Regions from separate parts of the Homo sapiens genome. Here all the other regions are linked to region 3. Evidence: promoter capture Hi-C in 16 types of primary human blood cells and fetal thymus (Javierre and others, 2016). All regions are on one chromosome and are shown on one strand. Each heading gives the region's core, a stretch centred on a gene start or on the middle of the fragment in contact. The rest is flanking DNA. Distances are from core to core; before and after follow the strand shown.

What was found. The method cuts DNA at HindIII sites, captures the fragments that hold promoters and counts their contacts. A CHiCAGO score of 5 or more calls a contact.
Region 1: a contact is called between a fragment that was not itself captured here and the fragment with the promoter of ESYT2 in region 3, in 1 of 17 cell types (monocytes). The highest score is 6.2, in monocytes.
Region 2: a fragment that was not itself captured here is called in contact with the fragment with the promoter of ESYT2 in region 3 in 2 of 17 cell types (monocytes and erythroblasts); the score reaches 7.4 in monocytes.
Region 4: a fragment that was not itself captured here is called in contact with the fragment with the promoter of ESYT2 in region 3 in 1 of 17 cell types (M0 macrophages); the score reaches 5.9 in M0 macrophages.

Annotation. Positions count from the first base shown.
Region 1 is chr7:157,342,606-157,346,843 of GRCh38, forward strand. All of the region lies in intron 1 of DNAJB6 (DnaJ heat shock protein family (Hsp40) member B6), which reads left to right. Among named protein-coding and RNA genes, the nearest start is that of DNAJB6, 7.7 kb to the left of the region's middle. The HindIII fragment of the contact is 2,827 bases long and covers 177-3,003 here.
Region 2 is chr7:157,385,567-157,389,680 of GRCh38, forward strand. It overlaps DNAJB6 (DnaJ heat shock protein family (Hsp40) member B6), which reads left to right. Exons shown (of 10, transcript NM_058246.4): 8 at 1-45. Among named protein-coding and RNA genes, the nearest start is that of DNAJB6, 51 kb to the left of the region's middle. The HindIII fragment of the contact is 2,691 bases long and covers 642-3,332 here.
Region 3 is chr7:158,827,819-158,832,047 of GRCh38, forward strand. ESYT2 (extended synaptotagmin 2) reads right to left here and starts at 1,691. Exons shown (of 23, transcript NM_001367773.1): 1 at 1,271-1,691. The coding sequence starts at 1,600. RefSeq lists enhancers at 465-534, 2,545-2,654 and silencers at 655-854, 935-984, 1,075-1,264, 1,315-1,414, 1,505-2,234. The HindIII fragment of the contact is 12,010 bases long and covers 1-4,229 here.
Region 4 is chr7:157,319,808-157,324,393 of GRCh38, forward strand. No RefSeq gene overlaps it. Among named protein-coding and RNA genes, the nearest start is that of DNAJB6, 15 kb to the right of the region's middle. The HindIII fragment of the contact is 5,596 bases long and covers 1-4,167 here.

The DNA of each region.
Region 1 (4,238 bases), core at 340-2,839, 1.5 Mb before region 3:
GCCAGCGTGCTGGCCTAACTTCTATATTTTTAGTAGAGATAGGGTTTCACCATGTTGGCCAGGCTGGTCTTGAACTTGTGACCTCAATCCACCTTCCTCGACCTTCCAAAGTGCTGGGATTACAGGTGTGAGCCACCAAGCCTGGCCTATTATGATTTTTTAATGAAAGGGAGTTAAGCTTGGAAGTATCTAATAGGTGATGAGTGCTAGTTGAAGAAATGGTCTCTGATCTTGAGTAATGGGGAAATAACTTCTGTGTTTGTTTCAGAAATATTTTAGGACATACTGGATAATGAAATAAGTAGGTGATGTGTGTGATAAGGAATGAAAATTCACTGCTGTGGGTTTTTTTTTTTCCTACCTGTCTGTACTTTTTTTGTTTTTGCTTTTTTTTTTTGTTGTTTGAGACCAAGTCTCACTCTGTCACTTAGGCTGGAGTGCAGCGGCGTGATCTTGGCTCACTGCAACCTTTGCCTCCCAGGCTCAAGCAATTCTTGTGCTTCAGCCTTCTTTCTGAGTAGCTGGGATTACAGATGTGCACCACCACACCCAGGTAATTTTTTTTTTTTTTTTAAGACAGAGTCTTGCTCTGTTGCTCAGGCAGGAGTGCAGTGGCACTATCTTGGCTCACTGCGCCTGCACCTCCCAGGTTCAAGCAATTCTCCTGCCTCAGGCTGCCGAGTAGCTGGGACTACAGGCGCTCACCACCATGCCTGGCTAATTTTTGTATTTTTAGTAGAGAAAGGGGTTTGCCATGTTGGCCGGGCTGGTCTTGAACACCTCAGGTGATCTGCGTGCCTCGGCCCTCCAAAGTGCTGGGATTACAGGCGTGAGCCACCTCACCTGGCCTCAGATGAATTTAGAAACCACTATTTTTTTTTGAGATGGAGTCTTGCTCTGTTGCCCCGGCTGGAGTGCTGTGGTGTGATCTCAGCTCACTGCAAACTCTCCCGGGTTCAAGCAGTTCTCCTGCCTCACCTGGAACTACAGGCGCCACCACGTCTGACTGGGTTTTGTATTTTTAGTAGAGACGGGGTTTCACCACGTTGGCCATGCTGTTCTCAAACTCCTGACCCCAGGTGATCCACCTGCCATGGCCTCCCAAAGTGCTGGGATTATACGCATGAGCTACCCACGCCTAATCTTTATGTGACGTGTTTTTTTAAAAGTCCTAAACTTAGAGGTCATTGAATTTATTGGAGAAGGTTATTTTTGATTAATGGCGATTAGGCTAATTTTTTTCATGGTTTTAATAGAGATTTTTCGTTTTTTTAAACTTGATTTAGATGTATTGCTTTTGGAAATTGCAGAAATTAACAAACCGAGTTTTCCTAAGAAATATTTTTTCTTAATTTCTTAATTGAAAAGTTTTCTATGGCTTCCTTAATAGACAGTAGGACCTAGTTAATAGTTTAAAGAAGTTTCATAATTGTTATTAGAAATGTTAATTATGGGCCGGGTGTGGTGGCTCACACCTGTAATCCCAGTACTTTGGGAGGCCAAGGTGGTCAGATCACAAGGTCAGGAGTTTGAGACCATCCTGGCTAGCATGGTGAAACCCCATCTCTACTAAAACAATACAAAAATCAGCTGGGCGTGGTGACAGGTGCCTGTAGTCTCAGCTACTTAGCAGGCTGAGGCAGGAGAATGGCGTGAACGCGGGAGGCGGAGCTTGCAGTGAGCCGAGATCCCTCTACTGCACTCTACTGCACTCTGCCTGGGTGACAGAGTGAGACTCCGTCTCAAAAAAAAAAAAAAATAGCCAGGCATTGTGGGACACACCTGTAGTCCCAGGTACTCGGGAGGCTGATGCAGGAGAATCGCTGGAACCAGGGAGGTGGAGGTTGCAGTGAGCTGAGATTGTGCTGCTGCACTCCAGCCTGGGCAACAGAGTGAGACTCAAACTCAAAAAAAAAAAAAAGTTAATTTTGTAGTTAGAGAATATCTTCCTGCTCTACGCAAATTCCCTTCCAGCCTGAAATTATTTGTTTTTTTATTTTTTATTTAAAAAAAAATTTATTATTTTTGTGACAGGGTCTTGCTCCGTTACGTAGGCTGGAGGGCATTGGTGCGTTCACGTCTCACTAGCATCGACTGCCTGGGCTCAAGTGATTTTCCTGCCTCAGCCACTTCCAGTAGCTGGGACTACAGGTGCACACTGCCACACCCTACTGAGTTTTTATATTTCGTAGAGACAAGATTTTGCTGTGTTACTCAGCGTGGTCTTGAACTCCTGAGCTGAAGTGATCCCCCTGCCTCAGCCTGCCAAAGTGTTAGGATTACAGGCATGAGCTACTGTACCCAGCTGTGATTTCTTTTAAAGTGCTACTTTACAGCACTGTCACTTTTATTTTATCATTTTTAACTTTAAAGTTTTTTGTTTATTTTTATTTATTTTATTTTTTGAGATGAAGTTTCGCCCTTGTTGCCCAGGCTAGAGTGCAATGGAGTGGTCTCGGCTCACTGCAACCTCTGCCTTCCAGGTTCAAGTGATTCTCCTGCCTCAGCCTCCCAAGTAACTGGGATTACAGGCGCCCGCCACCACACCTGGCTAGTTTTTGTATTTTTTGTAGAGACAGGATTTCACCATGTTGTCCAGACTGGTCTTGAATTCCTGACCTCAGGTGATCCACCCGCCTCAGCCTCCCAAAGTGCTGGGATTACAGGCGTGAGCCACTGCGCCTGGCTTAAAATTTTTATTTTTTATATATTTTGTTTTTTTCTGAGACAGGGCCTTGCCCTGTCTCTTGTCCAAGTTGGAGTGCAGTGACATGACATGGCTCACAGCATCCTTGATCTCTTGCGCTCAAGTGATCCTGCCATTTCAGCCTCCTGCATAGCTGGGAGTACAGGCATGTGCCACCCCACTCAGCTAATTTTTTTTATCTTTTTGTAGAGATGGTGTCTTACTGTGTTGCCCAGGCTGGTCTCAAGCTCTTGGGCTCAAGTGATCCTTCTGCACATTTCCAAGGTTGTTTCACTCCTGTGTCTTTGCTGTCTAGAAGCTTTTCAGTGTGATGTAATCCCACTTGTCTGTTTCGGCTTTTGTTCCTTGTGCTTTTGGGGGTCATATCCAAACAAAGATTGCTGAGGGGCCAAATTTTAAATTGTGTATAATTTTAATGACTTCAGATTTAAATAGCTGCATTTGGCTTATGGAGTCTTTTGAGCAGCATGGTTTTAAAAAGGTTTTTGCCAAGTGGGGTTCTAATGGACACCTATGCTTGTAGAGCTCTGATGTGAGTGATCTGCTGTAGAAATTACTTCTTTTGATTTAGTATATTATTTTAAAATGCAGGTGATGCACTGGTTTCTTGGTGAGGGAAGCTGGTTTTTCCTGGCTGAGCTTCTGTAGGGTGGAGGGCTGGAGTCCAGGCTCTCGCTGGGCAGGGAAGGCAGCTTGAGTGTGCCTTCCAGTCCTCCTGAGGGCCCACATTTTTCTGGGATCACCTGTTTTCTGTAATGTGCATTGAACACACGGGCCAGGAGAAGAGGGAAGTAGAGGAGCTTTGTCCTCTGTGCTCATCCTCACAGTGCTGGGCGGGCCAGAAGGATTCAGGGCCAACCTTAGGGAGATGAAGGCCAGTTAAAATGTTTTATTGCCACAAATGGTGTCTTTTAAGAAATGAATCCATGTATTTTACACTTAAATGATATTAGGCTACTCCGGGCACACTGCCTATGGGGTAGCCCTGCTCTGCAAGGAGTAGTAAAAAAAAAAAAAAAAAAAAAGTTAAAGATACAACTTAGTTTCTCTGTGACTAGGGAAATCGTCCAAGTATGTATCAAATAATGCTAATTGGTACCTAGTTTTATATCTTGATTAGGCAACTTTTTGCTTAAAATTGTTTTGGAATGCATTAGTATTTCTACAGCTTCAGGCTGCTTTATCATCTAATACACAGTTGGATATTTAATATATAGTTTTATCAGTTTTTTTTAAACACTGTTTTTGAGAGGTCTGAGGAAAAAAAAGATAGTGTTACCAAAAATACTTCTATAGGGAAATACTGATAGAAATGTATAGGTAGCCTTGAAATTCTGAGGTTAATAAAAAAATTTGAATGCAGGTAACCTTTCATGGAGTTTGTCAAATTTTAAATTGTGTCTTACATCAGTGATGACTGAAGCAGTAAGGAGTGAGCTTGCAGCAAACAGTGGGGATTGTTGCAGCATCAGCACTTCAGCCAGCTCTGCAGGTTTCCTTGGAGACACGTGGATTTCTCTTTCTAGACCTT
Region 2 (4,114 bases), core at 737-3,236, 1.4 Mb before region 3:
TAGAAGTTGAAGAAGATGGCCAGTTAAAGTCCTTAACAATAAATGGTAAGGAGCAGCTGCTGCGCTTGGATAACAAGTAATTCAACGCACGCACTTAACAGAAATGTTAAACTATAACAAGCACCATTTGAGGATTAACAGGAACATTTTTTTGAAGATTTCAAACGAACTCGACTTTCAGTATAATTGTACCTAAAGTATTTATAAACAGCTCATCGGAGCCTCTATTTGTCATAGACTTTTGAGTTGATTGTTGGGACCACATAATAGGACCATTTTTTTTTTGTCTTTAAAATTGTTGTAAATCTCTGTATGCACTTTGCTTTTTTATTAAACGTACTCCAAGGTGAGTCTTGACTCTTTAGTGTAGGACAAGATTGTACACTAACACCAGCATGGACCTGCTTTTCATTGTGTCTGAAATGTGAGCCACGTAGTGTCGGCCTGCTGTGAAGTTAACATTGCCAGGACGATTCTTCTACAGAAATAATTTCAATTTTTTTCAGTATTTAGTAGTGAAAGATATTAATACATTAATGGTAATACATTTCTGGTTTAATATAAATTAAGGATGTTTTCTAGTTGTGCATGAATGCTGGCAACTTAGTAAGTTTTGACAATTGTTTAAATATGTAATGTTAAGCTTAGGTTTAAAAAAGTAAAGCTGGTAAACTGGGTCTTTGTCATTTGCTTTAAAAAAAAAAAAAAAGAAAATAAATGCGAATGTGTTGGTGCATTCTTCCTGAGTGGGATCTGGAGCTTTTTTGTGTCTGTGTATGATTTGTGCCTGGGCTTCTAGTGTCACTTTAATAGCGTTTCGTGCTGTTCATTCAGGTGGATGCCGCACCTCAGTTACATGTAGACATTTTCTTCAGTATATTTGAAGTATATGAAGATTTTCATATTGTAAGTTGTGATTTAGCAATTGATCAAACATTTAATTATGGTAACATTTCTACAGGAGAGGGAAGAAACCATTGTATAATTTTTCACTCTTAAAGTATGTTCTAGTTTGATGTAAGATCACTTACGGATCCGGGCGCGGTAGCTCAACGCCTGTAATCCCAGCACTTTGGGAGGCTGAGGCGGGTGGATCACCTGAGGTCAGGAGTTTGAGACCAGCCTGACCAAGATGGTGAAACCCCTGTCTCTACTAAAAATAGAAAAATTAGCTGGGTGTGGTGGCAGGCGCCTGTAATCCCAGCTACTCTGGAGGCTGAGGCAGAAGAATTGCTTGAACCCGGGAGGTGGACGTTGCAGTGAGCTGAGATCGTGCCATTGCACTCCAGCCTGGGAGACAGAGCAAGCCTTCATCTCAAAAAAAAAAAAAAATCACTTTGGGACAGTCAAGGTCTTTTGTTTCTCAGTTTGTAATATCTTTCATGATTACCATTGGTAACTAGAATCCTAGCTGTAGTGAATATTGAACTAGACTTTGACTGAATTTGAAACTGTTTTGGAACTAAACAGCGTGAAAACCGCTAGAAGGACAGGCGGTTCCCTGACAAACAGCGTAGCGTGTTCCATCCGTGCTGGCTTTGCAGGAGGGCATAGAGATTGCTCGGGATACGCCAGAGCCCTTAAGCAACCTCACGTGCTGTTACTGAAAATAAGTAAAAAATATTTTAAGGAATTTCATAGGAGCTCAAAAAAGCATAGCAACAGTTAAGTAATTGGGGACAGTTGAAGTACAAGAAGAACAACGAGTGATGTGCTTGTCTGTTGTGTCGGAAATAACCCAGCACGCGGCACTTCCTGTCTCTGGATAAGGTAGGTATGCAGCCATGGCACGTGCGGGAAAGCGGGACAGCGCCCTCTAGTGTTGGAAATCCCACTCACAACTAGCATTGTGCGATCATAGAGCGCGCTTTTGTTTATGCCATCAGGACGGGTGGTTTTTTGTTACTAAATAAATTCAAGTAGATACTTGGACTAAGGCGTTTTATATTTTTCATTAGTGGGTGGGATGAGTCAGTGCAGCAGCCTTGAGACATCCAGGGATGTCCAGAAATACCAGGAAAATGAAAAGTCTTTACCTGTAATTCTTAAACTAGGAAGCATTTTGCTATAGCGTTGGTACTACACAATTTTAGAACACATTTGGTTGTTCTAGACTTTGTGGAGTGTTTCATGCAACTCTAGCTGTGAACAGTTTACTCAACATGGTGTTACAGGTAAAATATGTTTGACTCCTAAGGAATCTTTCTTGTGAAAATTTTTTTTTGAGGAGGAGGGAGCATTCATTTGTACTTGGGAAAACTACTGTTTTGTTTGTTTGTTTGTTTGTTTGTTTTTTTGAGACGGAGTCTTGCTCTGTCATCCAGGCTGGAGTGCAGTGGTGTGATCTTGGCTCATTGTAACCTCTGCCTCCCGGGTTCAAGCAGTTCTCCTGCCTCAGCCTCCTGAGTAGCTGGGATTACAGGCACCCACCACCACACTCAGCTAATTTTTGTATTTTTAGTAGAGATGGGATTTCACCATGTTGTCAGGGCTGGTCTGGAACTCTTGACTTCAAGTGATCCATCCACCTTGGCCTCCCAAAGTGCTGGGATTACAGGCGTGAGCCACTGCGCCTGGCTGAGAAAATTACTTTTATTCTGTTCTTCCATTGATAGAAGTGTAATTTTATTAAGTTACTAATAGAATAGAAAGCCTATTTGTTGCTGTCAAATCTTACACCTTTCATTTTTAAACCCCGTTAAGTTTATTCCTAGAGAATTCAGTCTAAGGGTGCATGAGAGTACCTTTGAAAAGTTAGGAAATGGCTGTGAGCATTGATACCATCACTCAAGTAAGTGATGGCTTGGAAGAATAATAGCATTTGATTTAAATTACAGTTTTTGGTAAATTCAACAGTCTCTTTACTTGCTGTAGTGTTGAGCGCCTCTGAAAATAGGAAGCTGAACGCTCCTTAACGGCACGTATCTGGTTGTGCACAGCCCCATGTGGTCCCATCCATTCTGGGGTGTGCTGTCTGCTGTGTTTGGTTTGTGCTCAACTTCCCTGTTTGAGATTCTTTTTTAAGTTTTATTTTTAAAGTCTTTAATTTTTAAAAATACTTCAATAGCTTTTGGGGGGGGGGTAAGTGGTTTTTGGTGACGTAGATGCATTATATAGTGAATTCTGAGATGTTAGTGCTGCTGTCACCCAAGCAGTGTATGTTGTACCCAAAGTGTAGTTTTTTAATCCCTGTTTGGCATCCTTTTGTCTGGAGGGCTCAATAATCTGTATTTTTGTCATCTCCTGTTTTCCTATTCCTTGTAGCTCCCCACCCCGTTGGTTTGATTTGAGTGATGGATTATTCCTTATATTTCTATCCTTTATAAAATTTAAGCTTTTTAGATTCCAAAGATTCCAGGCTTGATTTTGGAAACTCGGGGTTTTAAATAATCTGAAAGATGTCAATCAATAGTGGCATCATGGGCGACTTGTCATTCTTCCTCTTGGAAGTCCTTCAATGAGTAGATTTTAGAAGTGGGTAGAGTTAGTGTCACCATTTGCTAAACTTACCTGTGCACCTAGTGTGCTGAAGTAAATGTTCCTTACAATGTGGAAACGCTTGAGGAACACTGTGGGGTGATTGTCTTTCCAATCAATTTTAATTTCTGTTTATTAATTAGAGCTTGAAAAATGCCTGCTTATCCTGTCTTGATTACCTTCTAGATATCATTTCTTTCCGGGAATACTGATCTTGTTTTAAGCACTATAGAATGAATTAGAAACATTTTTATTTGCAGAGGATTCAACGGTAATAAATAATTGGCATATTATCTCTGTTATTGATTGGCAGCAGTGTTGAAATTTAGCCATTAGCATGTTCAGTGACAGAATGGAGGCAGATGTTGTTATTTCGGAGGTTTTCAAGCACAAAATTATGTTTAGTTGATTTGAATACTTGGTTTCGTGGGGTCTGGAGGGGACTGAATTACATAACCCACTGCTGTTTGTATTTTTAAAAACGAAGGCATGAGATCTTACCCTTTGGGGTCTTGATTTCAAAGCCTTTGGATATGGTATTCCTAGCTGTTCTAGGGACGTGGGGGGAGCTAGATGTAGGCCTTGGTACTAAAGTGTGACCAATGGTTGAAATGGGGTAGACCGAAGTCTGTCATTT
Region 3 (4,229 bases), core at 441-2,940:
CAAAGTTTATATTAAGCCTAATGGAAGAATCATTAAAATCCTTTCTTGCAGTGTGAAACTGTGAAGCCAAGTCATGGCTAAGAAAGAATTAGGGAATGACAAGAAAAAGATTTGAAGCCAACTCTTCGTGTCTATAGTCCATAAATATACGAGGTAGAGAACTGCCGGGTTAAAAATAAAATAATACCATGACTCTTGTTATTGCTGCAACTCTTCCAAAACTTCCTGCCACACACACACACATTCACACTGGATTCAGGTCGATCCCATATAAAAATGCTCAGTCTCACAATTATACTTGCAAAAAAACTGAAACAATCTTTCAATTATCTAATATCTCCACATCTTTCGAGAGACACTTACTGCCCTTGAAATGCGTCAGAAACAACCAAGACACGAGTGCGTCTTCTCCCGGTAGAAGAAAAAGTTAACTTCTCCCCCACCAGCTGTCATTACGTTTTTTAAAAAACAGAGAGAAGGAAAAGCTGAAGCCACCCGGAGCATTTCCAGGCCGGCAGGGCTTTGGGAATGCGCACGAGAATCGCGCTGGGCGCTCTGAGAGCAGAACCGGCCGCTCAGGCCCCTAAGGAGACCCCGCGGGCGGCACCAGGAGGAAGCGCGCGCTCCGGGCAGGGCCGCGGCCGAAGAGGGGGCGCCAAGCCCGGTACCTGCCGCTGGCGCTCGGGGTCTGCAGGCCGGGGGAGGGAAGCGGGCTTTGTGAAGAGGGGTCTCCGAGAAAGCCGCGCGGGACGGCGAGGGGAGGCTTCACGAGGGCAGACGCGCCCCGGACCCGGAGCCTGGGCGGGCGGGGAAGCGGAGAAGGGGACGCCCGACTTGGACGGAGGGAGGGCACGGAGCACTCAGGACTAGGGCGGGAGCGGCGAGCAGCGGGCGGCGGCCCCAGGCGGACAGGTTCGCAGGGAGTGGGCCGGAGGCCGGGGCGGGGCTGGGGTCTGCACTCGCCCTAGCGGGCAGGTCGCCAGCAGGCTGGGAGTCGGGGCCGGGGGGCGGGGCGGGGTCTGCACTCACCTAGGTTGGCAGGTCGCAGGAACCGGCCCGGGGGCCGGGGCTGGGGTCTGCACTCGCCCAGGCGGAAGGGAAGCGCCTGCCTGGACCGGGGTGGGTGGGGGACTACGAAGGCGGGAGCCGGGGCAGGGCTGGGGTCTGCACTCACCCAGGCGGCAGGTCGCGGGGAGGGGAGTGCCTGCCTGGACGAGGGGAGATCGGGACTGGTGGTCAGGGGTCGGGACGGGCAGGGGTCTGCACTCACCCAGGCGGGCAGGTCGCAGGCGCGCACCCCCAGGCGCACGACGCGCTCCTCGTCTTCCAGCAGCGCCAGCGCGCGGCACAGGCGCAGGGCCTTGAGGCCGCGGCTGCGGCGACACCAGGCGAGCAGCGCGAGCGCGAGGAGAACCCAGCTGAAGCTGAGCCCCAGGTAGCCCAGCGCGTACACGGGCAGCAGCAGCGCGAAGCTCCGCGCCAGCTGCGCCAGCAGCCCGGGCAGCTCCACGCTCAGCACGCCCCCGGGGTTCTCAGGCGCCGCGCGGCCCCCAGCCCCGCCGGCGCCCGCCTCCGGGCCCTCGCCCCGGGCGCCGCTCATCGCCCCGCAGTGCCGCGCTGCCCTCCCGGCCGAGGCGGGCTGGGTGCTCGCGCTGATCCCGGGCGGCTCAGCCCCGCGCCAGCGCCCCTCTGAGGGGACGCGGCTCCGCCGCACGCCCGCCTCCGCCCGGGACGGTGGCGTCATCACGCGGGGCGGGAGCGGCGTGGGCCTGGGGCTGGCACGTCACCGGGAGCGGGCGGGGTGGATACTGACGTCATCGCGCGGGGCGGGCCGTGGGCCGGGTCGGAGACTACTGGAGTGGGCCGGGCAGGCGCACGACGTCATCACGCGAGCGTTGTGTCTCGGCTGGCGGGAGCCGGGGACGGGAAAGGAGAGTGCTCGGTGCGTGGGCTGGGCGTGCCTGCGTCCCCTCGAGCCCCACGGGGCACCCTCCCCACTTGCCTGTGGCCTCGGAGCCCGCGGGCGGTTTTGGCTCGGCGTCGCGCCCCGAGGCGGCTTCCGGGTGCGTGGCTGCGCTCGCCGAGGCCCGGGAAGTTGCCGTCGTCAAACCCAAAGGCTGACCGCCTCTGGGAGCTGCTGGCAAACGTGGGGGTGCGCGGCCGCTGAGCGCAGCCGGGGTGGCGGTGGGATGAGAGGGCGGCGTCCCTGTTTGCGGTCATTTTGCGGCCAGGAGGACGGGTGAGAGGGCGCCGCCCGCCGGAGGTCGGACGGGCGCCGCTGGCGGGAGTCCTCCGGTATTTTTCGGTGTGAGGTTGCCTAGCCAGTGTGCAAGGTTGTGGCTTTTGCGGAGTCTCTCGGGACGGTCTTGTTATCGGGCATTCCGGCGTGAGAACGCTGCCTCTGGGGCCCTTCCCACCCTGCTTGTCAGGGTTTTAAACACAAACGACTCCGTTGTGACCTTGACAACTCTCACACAGTTCAGTTGGCTTTTAAGATGCCTTTAATCCCAAAAGTCCTCCCTGAGGGGTCTGGTAGTGCCGGGCAAAGACCACCGCAAGCGCCCAAGGGACGCTGTTGACACTCGGGAACTCCACCCCGGGCACCACGCAGCTTCGCCGAAGGTGTTAATATTGTGGCCAACTATGAATAGCTGTTTCAAACGACTAATTTTGGGCCTTTCCTGTGATTCCTGAGGTCACTTTTCAGTTAACTCAAAAACACAACTATTGATCACTTTACTTTCCAGTGAATTCAATCGAGTTAATTATATTTGTTCTGTAGTTTCTTTCAAGGAAACTCCAAGCCAAACAGTAGCAAAGAACATCCTACTTGACTGTTTTTGAGCATATTCAGTGAATTCCAAGGAAATTTTTACTGAATTTGTAACAGAGTAGGGCACTGGCAGGTACTGAATGAATAAACAAATGCCCAGAAGAAGCAGGGTCACCTTTACATAGGAATCTGTCTCCCCTCGTTCCTGCGTCTTCATAATTTTGTGTGCATATGTATGTGGAGATTATATCACATATGTAAAACATTGCAGAGTCTAAACTCTCAACTCCAGGCAAGGGCAGTAAACCCCAAGCAAGGAATGGAAGTGGTTTCCCTTTTCTTACTCTTCACAGTCCCTGGTTTGCTGCAGCAACAAATTATATTATGTAGATTGTAAATATGCAACCGGTTAATGCTCCTAACACCACCTTTCATTCAAAACTAAGCCTCAACACAAAAGCAAGTAATTGCTTTGTTGACACAGAAAGGAGCCTGAGCCTTTCTTTTGCAGCTTTCCTCTACTGGAAAATTGTAGGATCACATCCTACAAAGACTTGCATAAACATAAGCCACGTAAAAAATTCTGTAATCCCAGCACTTTGGGAGGCCGAGGAGGGCAGATCACGAGGTCAGGAGATCAAGACCATCCTGGCCAACATGGTGAAACCCCGTCTCTACTAAAAATAACAAAAAATTAGCCGCGCATGGCGGCGCGCACCTGGAGTCCCAGCTACTCGGGAGGCTGAGGCAGGAGAATTACTTGAACCCGGGAGGCGGAGGTTGCAGTGAGTCGAGATCGCACCACTGCACTCCAGCCTGGGCGACAGAGCAAGACTACGTCTCAAGAAAAAAAAAAAAATCCTGTGCCATGTGCCATCCAGTGGTTGACCCAAGGATGTAAACTAGATTGAAGAGAAGTTTCCATGTTGCATACCAGTCAGCCCAAGTGTCCTCAGCTTCCCTCTGTGTGAGCCCCGGGTTTCCAGCCCCTCCCTGTGGTTAATTGCCTGCAGAAAGCAGATCCTAAGGCTCTGCCACAGCTCAGTCTTACAGGTGTCTGGTCTGACTGCAGGTCCAGCTCGGCTCTTAGATTTTTGCTAATATTATACCCCTCAATCTCCTGTGACCTTTCATGACCCCTCCATCCTTTCCTTCTTGTAGACAAGGAGAAGTGCTGCTTTCTCTGGAGTGTCATTCCGAGTGCTCCGGTGCACAGCTGCGAAGTTCCAGCCTTCCTGGTTTCAGAGGAAAGTGCTATCTTGTGCTTAGGTTCAACTCTTCCTGCTTTTGGGTCCTCCCCCACACCTCTAAATACGTCTCGTTATGGAGGGTGGGAGCACGTGCTCTGCATCTCTTCAATTTGGAGGTTATACCAGCAAATTAAATATACTGGGGACAGTGAAAGCCAGGTTTCTTGCTGTTGGAGAAGGTAAAAACATGGAAGAGGGAAGGCTAA
Region 4 (4,586 bases), core at 120-2,619, 1.5 Mb before region 3:
TCTGCTCACCCTGATGACCTTTTAGAGCCCGGGCAGGGACCTGAAGGCTACTGGTAGGGACAGTTTATAACAGGGGACTACATGTCCCGCGAGAGAGGCCACAAGTGGCATAGGTTATGCATGGAGCTATGGTTGGCCTGGAAGGTCACCCCGAGGATCTCATCCTGAGCTATGGTTAGCCTGGAAGGTCACCCCGAGGATCTCATCCTGAGCTATGATTGGGCCTGGAAGGTCACCCCAGGATCTCATCCTGAGCTATGATTGGGCCTGGAAGGTCACCCCTGCATCTCGTCCTGGGTCCAGCTCAGTCTAGGGCTGTCTTTGTTTTATTTTGTTGAGACAGAGACTTCCTCTGTAGCCGAGGCTGGAGTGCAGTGGCTCCATCCCAGCTCACTGCAACCTCCACCTTATGGGTTCAAGTGATTCTCATACCTCAGCCTCCTGAGTAGCTGGGATTAAAGGCAAGCACCACGACACCTGGTTAATGTTTGTATTTTCAGTAGAGACAGGGTTTTGCCATGTTGGCCAGGCTGGTCTTGAACTCCTGACCTCAAGTCCTGATCCACCTGCCTCGGCCTCCCAAAGTGCTGGCGTTACAGGCTTGAGCCACCCTGCTTGGCCTTGGGCTTGTCTTTGAGATGGAGTCTCGCTCTGTTGCCCAGGCTGCAGTGCAGTCGTGCCATTTCAGCTCACTGCAACCTCCGTTTCCTGGGTTCAAGTGATTCTCCTGCCTCAGCCTCCTGAGTAGCTGGGATTACAGGCGCACGCCACCAAGCCTGGCTAATTTTTTTTTTGTATTTTTAGTAGAGACGGGGTTTCAACATGTTGATCAGGCTGGTCTGGAACTCCTGACCTCATCAGCTGCCCGCCTTGGCCTCCCAAAGTGTTGGGATTACAGGCTTGAGCTACCGCCCCCGGCCTGGGCTTGTCTTTTGTTGTTGTTGTTGTTGCTGAGGCTGGTCTCAGACTCCTGTGCTCAGTGATCCTATTGCCTCAGACCTTCAAGCAGCTGGAACTGCAGGTGGAAGCCACCACAGCATTCTGAGCCCAGAACTCTGGGCTCAGAGCCTGGCTTTTTCATTTTTATACTGTGGTTTTTGGAAAGTGAAAGTGTTTAATTTTGAAGAGATCTAATTTATGAATTTTCTTTTTTTTTTTTTTTTTTGAGACAGAGTCTCATTCTGTTGCCCAGGCTGGAGAGCAGTGGCACAGTCTTGGCTCACTGCAACCTTTGACCCCCGGGTTCAAGCGATTCTCCTGCCTCAGCCTCCCTAATAGCTGGGATTACAGGTACCTGCCACCGTGCCCGGCTAATTTTTGTATTTTTAGTGTAGGCGGTGTTTCACCAGCTTGGCCAGGCTGGTCTTGAACTTTTGACCTTGCGATCCTCCCGCCTCGGCCTCCCAAAGTGCTGGGATTACAGGCATAAGCCTCTGCGCCCAGCCATGAATTTTTTTCTTTTATGGCAAATGCTTTTGGTATCCTGAGCAAAAAAACTCTGCCTCCCAGAAAGTCTCAATTATTTTCACCTGTTTTCTTCTAGAAGTGTTATTGTTTCAGATTTTCATTTGAGTTTGTGATCTCTCTTGAGTTAATGTTTGTATACAGTGCAAGGTAGGGATATTTATTTTTATGTTTATTTTTGGAGATAGAGTCTCACTCTCGCCCAGGCTGGAGTGGAGTGGTGTGATCTCAGGTCACTGCAACCTCCACCTCCTGGGTTCAAGTGATTCTTATGCCTCAGCCTCCCGAGTAGCTGGGATTACAGGCATGCACCACCATGCCTGGCTAATTTTTGCATTTTTAGTAGAAATGGGGTTTCACCATGTTGGCCAGGCTGGTCTCAAACTCCTGACCTCAAGTGATCTGTCTGCCTCGGCCTCCCAAAATGCTGGGATTACAGGCATAAGCCACTGTGCTGGGCCACCTAATTTTCAAAAGTTTGGTAGAAATGGGGTCTCACTATGTTACTCAGCCTGGTCTTGAACTCCTGAGCTCAAGCTATCCTCCCGTCTCGGTTTCCCAAAGTGCTGGGATTATAGGGATGAGCCCCTGCATCCAGCGGAAATAAAATTTTTAGAATAAAACTCTTGCATTTTTTGATGGCAGCCCTTATATACTTGGTATTATTATTACTACTATGAATGATATTGAAATCACAGTGAATGCCAATTTGCAAAACATATGAAATACAGAATTAGGCCGGGCGTGGTGACTCATGCCTGTAATCCCAGCACTTTGGGAGGCCGAGGTGGGCATATCATGAGGTCAAGAGATTGAGACCATCCTGGCCAACATGGTGAAACCCTGTCTCTACTAAACACACAAAACTTAGCTGGGCGTGGTGATGCATGCCTGTAGTCCCAGCTACTCGGGAGGCTGAGGCAGGAGAATTGCTTGAATTCGGGAGGCAGAGGTTGCAGTAAGCTGAGATGGAGCCACTGCACTCTAGCCTGGTGACAGAGTGAGACTCCGTCTCAAAAAAATAAATAAAACAAATAAATACAGAATTAATTTCAGTTATGAGCAACTAAATTTTAACTGATAAAATAGAAAGCCCTCAGCAAGGTCAGGAGCTCAAACATGGCCAAGTGCGGTGGCTCACCCCTGTAATACCAGCACTTTGGTAGGCCAAGGTGGGCAGATCACGAGGTCAGGAGATCGAGACCATCCTGGCTACGGTGAAACCCAGTCTCTACTAAAAATACAAAAAAAATTAGCCGGGCGTGGTGGCTGGCGCCTGTAGTCCCAGCTACTTGGGAGGCTGAGGCAGGAGAATGGCGTGAACCCAGGAGGCGGAGCTTGCAGTGAGCTGAGATTGCACCACCGCACTCTAGCCTGGGCATCAGAGAGAGACTCCATCTCAAAAAAAAAAAAAAAAGGAGCTCAAACATGTATTACTTTATATCAAAATAATGATTTGGTCCCATACTTTGTTCTGGGAAGGGTAGGGAATATCTCTTCAATAGAAATTTGGCCGGGTGCGATGGCTCATGTCTGTAATCTCAGCACTTTGGGAGGCCGAGGCTTGTGGATCACCTGAAGTCGGGAGTTCGAGACCACCCTGGCCAACATGGAGAAACCCCGTCTCTACTAAAAATACAAAAATTAGCTGGGCATGGTGGCATGTGCCTGTAATCCCAGCTACTCAGGAGGCTGAGGCATGAGAATCACTTGAACCCAGGAGGTGCAGGTTACTGGGGGCTGAGATCATGCCACTGTACACCAGCCTGGGCGACAGAGCGAGATTCTGTCTCAATAAATAAATAATAAATAAATGAACAAATCAAAAACAGGCACATGCCTGTTGTCGTAGCTACTCAGGAAGCCGAGGTGGGAGGATCACTTGAGCTGGGGAGATGGAGGCTGCAGAGAGCCGTGAGCACGCACTTCATTCTAGCTTGGGCAACGTGGTGAGACTGTGTAAAAAATATATTTAAAAAAAATAAATACAAATAAAAAATTATTTCAATTAAATTGATTATAATTGAAAATTATAATAATTTGAAAGCAGTAAATATTTTATCGAATCGGAATTTGAAGTGCTAACACAGATTCAACATATTTCTAGGGCAGATGGCAGGTCTTAAGGCTCAGCTCTGTTGAAAGGGACGGTGTCTGTGAAACTAACTGGAGCCTCCTGGGGCTTCAGTGTTGGTCCCAGCTGAACTTTTTTGTTTGTTTTGTTTTGTTTTTGAGACAGGGTCTCACTCTGTCACTCAGGATGGAGTACAGTGGTGTGATCTCAGCTCGCTGCAGGCTTGACCTTCCAGACTCAACCTATCCTCCCACTTTAGCCTCTCTAGTTACTGAGACTACAGTCACGTGCCACCATGCCCAACCAATTTTTCTTTTTTTAAATTTTTGTTCTGAGACACAGTCTCCCTCTGTTGCCCAAGCTGGAGTACAGTAGTGCAATCTTGGCTTACTTCAACCTCTGCCTCCTGGGTTCAAGCGATTTTCCTGCCTCAGCCTCCCAAGTAGCTGAGATACGGAGGCACCCGCCACCATGCCTGGCTAATTTTTGTATTTTTAGTAGACACAGGATTTCACCATGTTGGCCAGGCTGGTCTCACCTCATGTGATCTGCCTGCATTGGCCTCCCAAAGGGCTGGGATTACAGGTGTGAGCCGCCGCGCTGGCCTCCAGCATTTGTTTTTTTCCTGAAGCTTTCCCTCCTCGCATTCTCCTCTCTCACGTAAGCCCTATGCTGTTGTTCCCCAAGATACTCTTTTTCTTCCTTTTAAACCTTACCTATTCTCTAAAATGGGTGACTACTATTAGTTTAGTATTAGAGGGAACCCACTTGGTGATAGTGTTTGCATTGCTTTCTCTATTGGAATTTGTGTGTGTGTTTTAGTAGAGATGGGGTTTCACCATGTTGCCCAGGCTGGTCTCGAACTCCTGAGCTCAGGCAATCTGCCCGCCTTGGCCTCCCAAAGTGCAAGGATTACAGGCGTGAGCCACTGCACCTGGCCTCTGTATTAGAATTGTATAGAGATACTTGTTTTGTGTTTTCTTTTTTTTGAGATGGAGTTTTTGCTCTTGTTGCCCAGGCTGGAGTGCAATGGTGTGATCTCATCTCA